Regions from separate parts of the Homo sapiens genome. Here region 1 is linked to region 2. The links are contacts of gene promoters, found by promoter capture Hi-C in human tissues and cell types (Jung and others, 2019). All regions are on one chromosome and are shown on one strand. Each heading gives the region's core, a stretch centred on a gene start or on the middle of the fragment in contact. The rest is flanking DNA. Distances are from core to core; before and after follow the strand shown. Region 1 overlaps IMPG1 (interphotoreceptor matrix proteoglycan 1). Region 2 holds the start of IMPG1 (interphotoreceptor matrix proteoglycan 1).

Region 1 (5,861 bases), core at 1,043-3,542, 45 kb after region 2:
TGTAATTTGCCTCTGGATACCTCAGATCCAGTTTTCCTTCCTAGGGCTTTTACCTAAAGCTTGGAATTGAGTTTGGGACAAAAATATGTCTCGGGGGGTTACATGGACTCCTTATCAAAAGCCAAATGCTAAGGTGAAACTGTGGAAGTGAGTCCTCCAACAAGGGAGAGAAAAGGATGTCTTGTGACACACCAAGATAACTGGTAGCTATAGTTATGCTTGCTAGAATTTAGGTGCATGGTGCTTGGCTTTGGTTAGTTCCCTTGGTCTTTACTTCCCCAAAAATGAAACCTCCAGGTGATGGGCACCCTATTTATTCCCTATTTATTCCATCACCTGGCAGGATTTGCAGGATAATTGCTCAGAACCAGAATATTGATCCAGATTTCTACATTACCCATCCCTCTTGTTCTTTCTGAGCTGCAGCCAGAGATTGCTGGTTGGTTCACAGGAACAAGCAGGGTTAGTCTAAAATATAGGCAAAATCTTAAAAACAACTAATGAGTTTAGAATTTAATGACAAATGTATGATAAGTTTTGAAACATAATTTCCCTCTCTCCAGTCCTCATTTTTGTTAAAAACAAAATCATAATAGGACTGAGTTGTTTGCAAATAGACTTTGGTTTTAAACTTGGCCTAATTATTTGCATAAAGTGCAGCAAGAATAATTATTTCTACATAAGCCTTTTGGATTGGCTTTGATGGAAGTCTGTTCCACGAGGACTCTCAGGTGAGACCTTTTAATGCTGATCCCAGCTCTGGGTTTGTATCCTCAAATGCCTGTGAGTTGGGTGATCCCCTCCTCTTAAGGTCCAAAGATAAACTTGGAGCTCCTGGACCTGTTAGAAAGTGACATTCTTTACTGACCATAGGTCAAGAACCCTGTACAGGGACTGCATAGACAAGGGTATTAGGCCAGTTTCCCCACTGAGTTTTATTAGTTCTGTAAGTTGAGATTGACTCCTTAAAGGGAAGCATACACTTTCAGTCAAACCCTTGATAAAATACCCAATTTTTCCAATTGTGTCTTGTTGCAAAAGAAAAATGGATTCTTATTGCACTGATGCAAACAACTATATTGCCGTAAGTTAAGAATACTCACAGATAGTTTCCAAATTCGAAAGGAACCAGGCAGAGAGAAACAAGCATGCTCCAAATTTTCACCCCAGGAGTATACCTTACTTAACTTTTTTTTTTTCTTGAGACGGAGTCTCGCTCTGTCACCCAGGCTGGAGTGCAGTGGCACGATCTTGGCTCACTGCAAGTTCTGCCTCCCAGGTTCAAGCCTCAGCCTCCTGAGTAGCTGGGACTACAGGCACCCACCACCATGCCTGGCTGATTTTTTCTATTTTTTAGTAGAGACGGGGTTTCATCATGTTAGCCAGGATGATCTCAATCTCCTGACCTTGTGATCCACCCGCCTCGGCCTCCCAAAGTGCTGGGATTACAGGCGTGAGCCACCGTGTCCGGCCCTTACTTGTTAAAGGCTATAAATAGTTCAAAATAAGTTTCCTTGACTCTGAAAAATAAAACAAGGATCAGCAGTATTCCAAGAAAAAGTCAAAAGTTGCTTCAGCTTTCTGAGTTCTGTCCATTTAATTAACTCTTGTTTGGTTTGATATTCGTGAGCATTTCAGCTCCTCATGAGTCCTGTACATTTTCCTTTATTCCAATGTTACAATCTCCAAAGTTAACAGAATCATGTATTTGCGAGCACCTGTTAAAGTCCTGCAGCTTATTATAAACTATCTTTTGAAAAGGATGAAAACAAGACAGCAATTGTCTGTGAATAGCAAAACGTCCAGTGTAGTTACAGTTAGGAACACAATTGACAAATTTGGTTATCTCCATGGTTTACAATAACTTAACAACATTAATTATGATTGATAGCATACATTTAGATATTAGAATTTTTGAAATCCCATAGAATTTTGGAACATAGATTAGCATTATTTACCAAGATATGAACTAAAGAAGAGTGAACATGATTTTGACAATCCCAGGTACCTAAATATGTTGAATAATCCTGCTTACCTCTTTTCTGGACATTCTAGGGGCTCTCTGGACTATCCAAAAAGCCAGGTGTCAGGAAGGACAATTTTGAAACTGAAGTTTGATTTTGAGAAGCCTTTTAAATATGTCTAAAGCACTTGATATTATGAAACATAATTCCAGATAGCCATAAATTATTTATTGTGCCAAAATGATGACTCCAAAATCTTAAAGAAGCAAAAACCTTTTATAACCCTTTACAAATTTTGCCAAAGAGCAGATTAGTGCCTGAAGAAAATTTTGTTATGGTTTTATCTCAATGCTCAATTTACGGAAAAAACCATATAATACCTTTTTTTGAATAGTCAATATGTTCACACAAAGAACCTCTTCTGCAAGAGTAATTTCCACAATTCTTCCAGCACTTCTTTGAACCTTCAGCTTTTTTCTATATAATTTAATACAATCCTTTAACCCTAGGCCAAAGTTTACATTTCCATGCCTTCTTATAACCTTTTACTATAAAAACACATTTTACTATTCTTACACCCCTTACATGTAAATCTAATTTCAGTAGTTTCAATTACATGGTATAATGTTAACTCCTAACAATTTTTAACTTTAAGGTAAAACCTGGTAAGTTACTTTAATTGTGTGCTGACTGCAGCCGAGGTTTGCCTTTTTAGTTAAGGGTGTAATTAATTTCATATGTCCCCAGGCCTTACCTATTGTGAAGCCAACAAGACAGACAGTTCTCAAAACCCAAAAAGCAGTTTATAACCTCAAAACACTTAGCAAACCTTGCATCTGACCTGCATAGTTTAGTTCACCTATTTACATTTTAATGACACCTTCATTTTACCAATAATCTTTAAGGCTGTTTTTATTTCTTAAAGAGTAAAGTCACATGCACTGCAAGGTACTACAGCTTTTAACTTCCCTTAAAAAAATTAGATCCAAGTGCTTGTCTTTCTTTAGGCCAAATTAATTACAGCTCTTTGACAGACGTTACACACAGTACACACACAGAGAGGCAGAAGAAAACCTAGTCACTGAATGGGGCTATTTAAGAGACAGATTTAGAAAAACATGCAGATATTGAACCAGAAAGGGCTCATTCCATAAGGCAAAGTCTTGCCACTGGAGTTACAAGCCATGCCCTCAGGATGTATAACAAAATGGAGGCTTGATTTAACAACCAAAACTTTGCAGAGAACACAGTGATAGTTGTTGGGGGTGGGGGTCTGGCCTGCTAAAGGGGAAAAAGAACTTTAAAGGTTAACTGCAGACAGGGTGGAGAAGAGAAAAGAAAAAAAAACATTTAAAAATGCCTGGGGAAGAACCTCTTACTCTTATGCAAGTTCCTCCACCAGGGAGAAAAGTTTAATTACTGTCCGATGGAGCTGAACCCTTTGTCCAGGGAAGCAGAAGGCTGCTGTGGTGATGCATAGCTGGGAACAAGCCAGCCAGCTGTGTGGGACCCTTGGACCATACGTCCCAGCCCCAGCAGGGAGGGGAGAGCAGCGGGGAGCTGCTGCTCACTGCTCCTTTTTTGACCCTGAGAATGGAAGGAAAGGGCCATGAAAAGGCCCAGGAGCAATGGGGTATGGGGGCATGGTTTCCCCCACCCTGAGAAGTCCAAGGATGAAAAGGCTTAGAAGCAACAGCGAGAGGATTTGAGTCCCCATTTCACTCACCACTTCTCGAGCCCCACGTTGGGCGCCAAAAAATGTTGCAGGACTTATCCTTAGTTCAGCTAAAGACAAGGTCCTTGTCTGTCCCACAGCCATGACAATTTAGGCTTGCAGATGGTTTGAAGGGTGAGTAAAGCAGGGTTTTATTGGGTGAAAAGGAAGAAAAGGGGAAAATAGGGACTCTTGCTAGCGCAGAGTCCCTGCTAGAGTGCTTCCCGCACAGAGTCCCTGCTAGAGTGCTTCCCGCATGCAGCTTGAATCCCAGGTTCCACACAGGAAGAGGAGGGGCCAGGCTCCTCCCCACTGCAAACTGCACAAACTTCCCAAGGCTCCATCCCTGAGGGCAGGCCAGTTGGAGTTTTTGGGGGGACCTCCTCCCACCTGGCTCTCTCACCACTACTCCTTTCTAAGTAAAGCTTGTTAGAATGGGCCAATATTATACACAAATAGCTCTACCACCATGACCTTGGATCTGCTCCTAGAATCTCTTCCACATCATCATTCCATGGCACTGAGAACCTACCCCCAACTTCCTGGCTAGTTACCATTACAGACAGTGGCTGTGCCCAGAATACAGATTTAGTAAATTTATATTACCCAGAAATCTATCTCTTTCCCATTACTGTAACCACAAGAGTTACTTTATTAGATAAGCTTAATGACTCTGGATATGCAGGCTTGAGGGTCTGAGATTTTAGCAAGAATATTTCAGTCACAGATCATGTCATCAATTATCTCTGATGTCAAGAACACAGTGTAAGTGGAATGGAACTACAACATTAGACCCCAAAGACCAGCTTTGCCTACCACAGAACCCCAGGACCACAAAAAAAAGGATGCTTACGGAAAACACTGGAGTCAAACATAACCATTTTGGAGAGTTTTTTGCATTTTTCCTCAATGAGAATATATTCAAATATTACTTCTGTAGTTTAAAAATAGGTCAATCTAGTTTTAAAGTATGCTTTTCCTATAACTTTTAGGTTTACTCAGTATAAGAAATTTAAATGTATGTTCTCTACTGTCATCAAGTTCTCTTTCACCACCTCTTCCTTCTTTTCTATTGTACTAATAGAAAAGATGAAATATCTGCAGAGAAGACATTGGGAGAGCCTGGTGAAACCATTGTCATTTCAACAGGTAAGCTTAGATCTAATTTCTTTGCTTCTCAACTTTCATTCAAATCATCATGATAGCATGTTATTTATAAAACAATTCCTAATTAAAGATAATGTTTATAATGTACTTTCTCAAAACTAGCTTATATTTCTAACTTTATAACATAATTTAAATTTATTGCATACAACTTGGAAAATACAGAAAAGAATAAAGGTAAAACCAAACCATTCAATATCTTACAGTTTGGAAACAACCATCATGAACATTTACTGCCTATTTTCTGCCTTCTTTCTTCTATTATATACACATATTACTGAGACCATATTTACTTAGAGTTTGTATCATTTTTTCCACTTAACCTGATGTAAAGGATATTTTATAGTTCACTAAAATTTCTTCAAAGTTATCATTTTAATGACTTGCAACATTCTGTTGCATCCATATGGATGTCATCAACTTAACCATTGCATCATTGTATCTGACATTACAAATAGTGTTTTAATTAAGATATTTAAACATAAATCTTTGTCAAATCACTAATTTCTCAAAATAGATTACTAAGTCAAACACTATGGATTTTAAGGCTTTTAATAAATTTTGCCAAATTTTTTTTCCAGAAATTTTGTTACAATTTAAATATCCCACTGGCAGAAAAGACAAGAACCTGTCTCATTGCAGCACTTATCAATATTGAATATTACTATTTATTCTAGAGTTTGCCAAAAGGCAGAGGAAAATCATTTCTCCTGTGTTTATTAGATGTTTGAAATTTCTCTTTCATGTATATTTCTATTGCAGTCTTCCCATTTTCACATAAAAGAATACTTTTAAATATACACAATAAAACTATTCTCTGGGCAATGTGTTCCCCAGTTCATTTGATTTTTGGTAATGTGAATAATGTTTTAAGAAATTAATTTTTCATGACTTAAAATGTAGAAATTGAGAAAATAGATATTTGTAAATAAATGATATTACTTTCCCATTTCTTCCTTTACTGACATTCAGAGAAAGCCGGCTGTGCCTATATTTCAATTTTCTCCTAAGTTCAGCTA
Region 2 (5,843 bases), core at 3,332-5,831:
ACCTCTGTACCTGGGCTGCTATCAATCTCATCCTCACTAAAACTGTCATCTTGAGGCTCTATGGTTGCCTCCCTTCATTCTTGCTCTAGTGCAGTCAGCTTTTGGTAGGTTCCATCCCTTCCTTCTCCCTCATTATGTCTGAGAAATCGCTTTTTGTTTAATCCTGTAGTTTTTAGCTGACAGCCAAAGTGAGATGGATCCAGAGGGTAAACTCAAGGGATGGAAGCCTACCTTAGATGACATCCCAATTAATGTTACCCTTGTGTTTCTGTGTAGTATATCCCTAATTTCTAAGTTACGAATAATAATGAAGGGAAAACTCTCTGAGCTACAGATAGTGAATCTTCTATTAACAAGAAAGGCATTTCTTCAAAACATCCAGAAATACAGGTGAGGACATTAGGGTTTTTTCATAACTAATAGAACCTATTCCTTCCAGATTACAGATTTCATACATATGGTAGTGCCTAACTGCTCCTCCTAGTAGTGATTACTTCTATGAGAAGTTCAGCTACTCCTGACTAATTACACATTTTAATGGTGATAGAAATGTTTCAAGAGTCCCCTGTGCCTGCCTGGATTGGAGAGACAAATAAACAGCCAATAATGTGAGCAAAGAGAAACCTAGAAACAGTAAGAGGACATTAGTCCTACTACCAAAGAAAAGACTACACCATTCCAGAGACAGAAACTTTCTAGATTCCTAGGTAGTCACCTTACCTAAGTTTAAGTCAGTAGATGTAATGTGAAGGAAAAGATCAATGTAAACAGTGAACTTTTGATAGGACCCTGCCTTTTCAATGGCTTCTCTTCTGTTCAGTGTCATTAACTTGTCCAGTGAGTATCAGTTACTTTCTCAGCATGTTTTCCCTGTAGAGAGAACATAGTGAGGAGCAGTAGAAAGAACATAGGCTTTGAAAGTAGAGAGATCTTGGGTGGAAAACCTGCTTCAGTTTTATTAGTTGCATAGTTGAATAATGTACTCACCATCTCTAACTCTCAGTTTTCTCATCTGTGAGATGTAAATAAAAATAGTACTTGAGAGCTGGGTGCAGTGGCTCACACTTGTAATCCCAACACTTTGGGAGGCCAAGACAGGAGCATCACTTGAATCCAGGAGTTTGAGGCCACTTTGGGCAACAGAGTGAGACCCCATTTCTACAAAAAAATAAAAAATCTCTAATAAAATTTAATTAAAAAATAGTACTTACCTCATGAGGGTGCTGAGAAAATGTCATACTATGCATATAAAGCACTTAATTGAGAGTTTTATATTTAATAGGAACTCAAAAAATTATGTCTATTTTGATTAACAAAAGGAATCATTTCTTTGTGATATTAACTTATTCATTTTGGTAAACATGATATGGTTTTGCTCTGTGCCTCCACCCAAATCTCATCTTAAATTGTATTCCCCACATTTCAGGGGAGGGACCCAGTGGGAAGTGATCGGATCATGGGGGCAGTTTCCCCCATGCTGTTCTCATGATAGCGAGTGAGTTCTCACAAGATCTGATGGTTTAAAAGTCTGGCATTGCCCCAGTTCCTCTCTCTCTCCTGCCGCCATAAGAAGACAGGTCTTTCTTCCCCTTCCACCATGATTGTAAGTTGTCTGCAACCCCTGAGTCATGCTTTCTGTTAAGCCTGCCTGTTAGTCAAACTTTTTTTCTTCATAAATTACCCAATCTCAGGTAGTTCTTTATAGCAGTGTGAAAATTTACTAATATAAAACTTATTATTTATATCTACTGATTTCAGATGAAGGAATATATCTGCAAAGATACACTGCCTTTTCCACTCTACCTTGTACATTTTAAATGCACCACTGAAATTCTGCCAGAAAATACAGGGGAAAGCCTATCTCTTTAAGAATATACAATTATAGTTGACAGTCAACCACCTTGAAGAAGCAATTCTGGATTAATTAACAGTGACCCAAAATTAAACACAACAGTAATTAGAGAACAACTTGATGGTCCCAGAAAGCATGGTCTTGGGAATAATGAATGCTTATCATTCTTGTTTGCTATCTAAGTGGGAGTTATCAACATTAGTTACCCAGATTTTTCATCAAAAGTAGGAAAAATGCATAAGGTACTGCCATCAAGAGAAACTTTTAAATATTTGTTATTTTAAAACAAATTAAATACTTTTATATTCATATCTATGATAGAGGATACCTTCTTGAACACAAATTAGTCTATCCTATATTTTTCTTTAAGCAACACATTTCATTAAGAAAACTATTAAGAGGAAATTGTTTTCGGAAATTGAAATTGTTGGTTTCTTTCCTAGAGAAAGAAGAAATGTTTCATAACAGGGTTAGAAATGTAAGTATAACATAGAACTATATAGCAAACCAAGAGAGAAGTATTTCTTCAACTAATATGAATGTATTTTAGAAATACTTATGTATAAGTATGTATCTAGTCTATTGCATTCTAATATCATTTTTTCTACATATAATTAGGGAAAAATAGATTCATCTTCCACCTAGTTCATTTCTCATTTTCAAATACATTGTTATAAGCAGGCTTATATACCGATTGATGGTAGTTTTCTTTAAATATTACCAAAATAATCTGTAGTTGAAGGTAAGAGCTAAAAATCCATTCCCTTTGACCACCTCTGAATACCCCAAGAAAATAATATTTAAGGAATTTTTTTAAGTATAAAGCCACAACAAACCACGAGAAAGAAGACAACAGTAATAAAGTTTTAGAATTTCTACAGCTGACATTTTCAATATCTAAATGAATGTTGTTTTCAACCCAGAATTCTATATCCAGCCAAACTATCAAACAAGTATGAGGGCAGATGGAAACCATTTTCAAACATGTAAGATTTTAAATTTACCTACCACAAACTTTCAGTAATGTACTAGAGCAGTTGCTCCGCTAAAACAAGAGATTAAGTTAAGAAAGAAGACAATACAGGATCCAGAAATCACAAGATCCAACACAAGAAAGAGGTTGAAGGAATCCTCAGGATGACTGTGAAGGGCAATCCCCAGATGACTGCTATGAACAATGACAAGAAATTAAATAATACAGACTGGAGAGGGTTAGAAAGCCCTGGGAAAGACAGACTATTTGAAGTGTTTATGTGAAGAGATTTACATATCCAGGGGAATATTTGGGGATAATTTATTATTTTGTATTTAGAAACTAAAAAAAGTTTTTTTTAATGAGACTATGCAAAAAGTATCATAGAAGGATAGTGGTGAAGAGTATAGGCTCTTGGCCAGGTGCGTGGCTCACACCTATAATTCCACCACTTTGAGAGGCCAAGGCTGCTGGATCACTTGAGCCCAGAAGTTCGAGACCAGCCTGGGCAACATGGTGAAACCTCATCTTTACAAAAAATACAAAAAATTATCCAGGTGTGGTGGCATCTGCCTACAGTCCCAGATACTCAGGAGGCTAAGGTGGGAGGATCACCTGACCCCATGGAAGTTGAGGCTGAAATGAGCCAATGAGCCAAGACCACGCCATTGCACTCCAACCTGGGTGACAGAGTGAGACCCCCATCTCAAAAAAAAAAAAAAAAAAAAAAAAGGGTGTAGGCTTTTGAACCAGACTCTTTAGGTTTAAATCCTAGCTCTGCCACATATACTTTATTCTCCTCAAATTTAAAAGAGATAGTATTAACAGTGTTTATATTGTCATATTGAGGAATCTATGGATAATCTATGGACATCTCTAAGAACAATGTCTATCCACAACACAAGAGCTCCATATACAGTAGTAGTTGCAGTGTGTTTCATGACTCAGCAATATGTAGCATGTATAGTCAAAATAATATAAAATCAAATATTCAAAAACTGAAATTACAATAATACTGATGAAGAAAGATGGAAAGATGTTTACAATGAGTAGAAAGGGTATGTGTGGAAGTGAAGTTATTCTCAATATCTATTATTTGATAATACCTAAAAGTGAAAACCTCCAAAATAGTAATAGAGGCATGTTATTTAGAAGTGCAAATGAGACTACTAGAAGAATTAGGTTGATGAAGTAAAAATGGCTCCCCTTTGAAAGAAGGCATGGGTAGAAGAAAGGCACAATTTTTTCTTACAAACTTTGTAGAAAAAAAGTATTTGACCCCTTAAACACAGTGCATACAGATTTTAAACATTAAAACCAGACTTAAATCAAAAAAGCCACCTGTATGTAATTCCAAATCAAAAGCAATTTATAAAGCAGAACATAGAAGAGAATGGAGACAGTTTCGCTATCTGTGGAGACTAATACATATTGGATAACCATATACTTTCAGGGACAGAAATTAAGCTCTTTTAATGGATGTTTCTTGTACATGTCATTTTAGAAAACATCTGACCCTAACTGTCAGCCTTATTCTCTGTTTGGCAGAACTTCCCCTGGCTCTCTGTGTCACTGTAACAGGTGAATAACTAAGAAAAAACTGTGTCTGTAGACACTTGTTTATAATGGCATTCAGGGTCCTGGAGCTAGGCTGACAGATGCTCCTCCAGAAGGTTAATGAGATAAAGGTTCCTCCAGCTGGCCCTTAAGCAGAGATTACACCTGAGGGAAAGACAAGCAGATTATTCCAGAAACAGACACTGCTACATGTTCTTCATAAATTAACACCCTCATAAAGGTAAACCAAGAAGGTTATCCTCAATCATCTGGTATCAATATATAATTATTTTTCACATTTCTGTTACTTTTTAATGAGATTTGAGGTTGTTCTGTGATTGTTATCAGAATTACCAATGCACAAAAGCCAGAATGTATTTGGAAACTAGAAGAGCTATTTTTGTTTTTTGGATTTTTCTCCAAGTTCAAGGAACCAAAGGTAAGTTACTTAAATGTTTACTTTTAAATTGCTTATCTATAAAATCTACCGATAGAAGTGAATATTTAGAACCAACAAGGCTACCAATTGATCTCACGGGCTAGTATATAGTAGGCCTTGAATAAATATTGCTTGATTGATTGAATAATTAACTATCAGAAATGATTTTCACTTGATTTAATATTTACTACATGGTCTTAAGTGCAGTGAAGATTAACAAAATAGGAGAGATGAATGCATCCTATTTGCTGTTCTAAAACATTCATTGAAAATTCTTATTATTAATGTAAATAATATTAGTAGATCTGTGAAACTAACTCCATTTATCCACCGAAATTCAACAAATAAAACCTAAAGATAAAAGTAATGTTTTAAGTCATTTATGGTCAGACAAAAAAAAGTAAGTATTTCTTACCTTCTCACAATGAAATCATGAGTTGCTTTCCCTTAGAAAATAGCAAACATTCTTCATCTTCAGGGTTCATGATGACAACCACTTCAAAATTTGGTTGTTTTTGAAGTTGTACGCATAAAAGAACTAGGCAATGTATGTTCTTATGGCAAATCTGCATCTGAATATGAAATTAAAATAAGCCACAAACAGGATGTTTTAAGAAAAATAATGTGTGTTTTAAAAAAGAAACACACATGTTGGAGAAAGTTTGACTTTTTTATATAAGGATAAGCCTACCTATCATAATATACTCAATCTTTTTAAGACATTTGAAGTCAATAAGGTTAAGAATTTCTTTAAGAATGACATAGCTTCATGATGATAAACATTTTAACTAAAGTATTGGTTTGGAATATCCATGAAAAAGTAAAATTAATAGTCATTGCATGTGTAAGTCACAAAATAACTGTGATTCCATCAGTCATGTTATATGAAACTTCTCAGTGATTGCATTTGGAGGGAGAAAAAAATTTCTGGAAAAGATTTCTTCATGTTTTCACAATAGTGAAAGAAGCAAAATTTATTTACTTTTTCATTAAATTATCAATTATATATAAATATTTACATT

The links. Contacts are between HindIII fragments. The study calls those that stand out against the background at their distance.
Region 1: a contact is called between a fragment that was not itself captured here and the fragment with the promoter of IMPG1 in region 2, in 2 of the 25 tissues and cell types used here (pancreas and spleen).

The regions. Positions count from the first base shown.
Region 1 is chr6:76,024,160-76,030,020 of GRCh38, reverse strand. IMPG1 (interphotoreceptor matrix proteoglycan 1) reads left to right here. Exons shown (of 17, transcript NM_001563.4): 5 at 4,763-4,827. Among named protein-coding and RNA genes, the nearest start is that of IMPG1, 46 kb to the left of the region's middle. The HindIII fragment of the contact is 4,590 bases long and covers 1-4,587 here.
Region 2 is chr6:76,071,400-76,077,242 of GRCh38, reverse strand. It overlaps IMPG1 (interphotoreceptor matrix proteoglycan 1), which reads left to right and starts at 4,581. Exons shown (of 17, transcript NM_001563.4): 1 at 4,581-4,821. The coding sequence starts at 4,755. The HindIII fragment of the contact is 12,797 bases long and covers 1-5,843 here.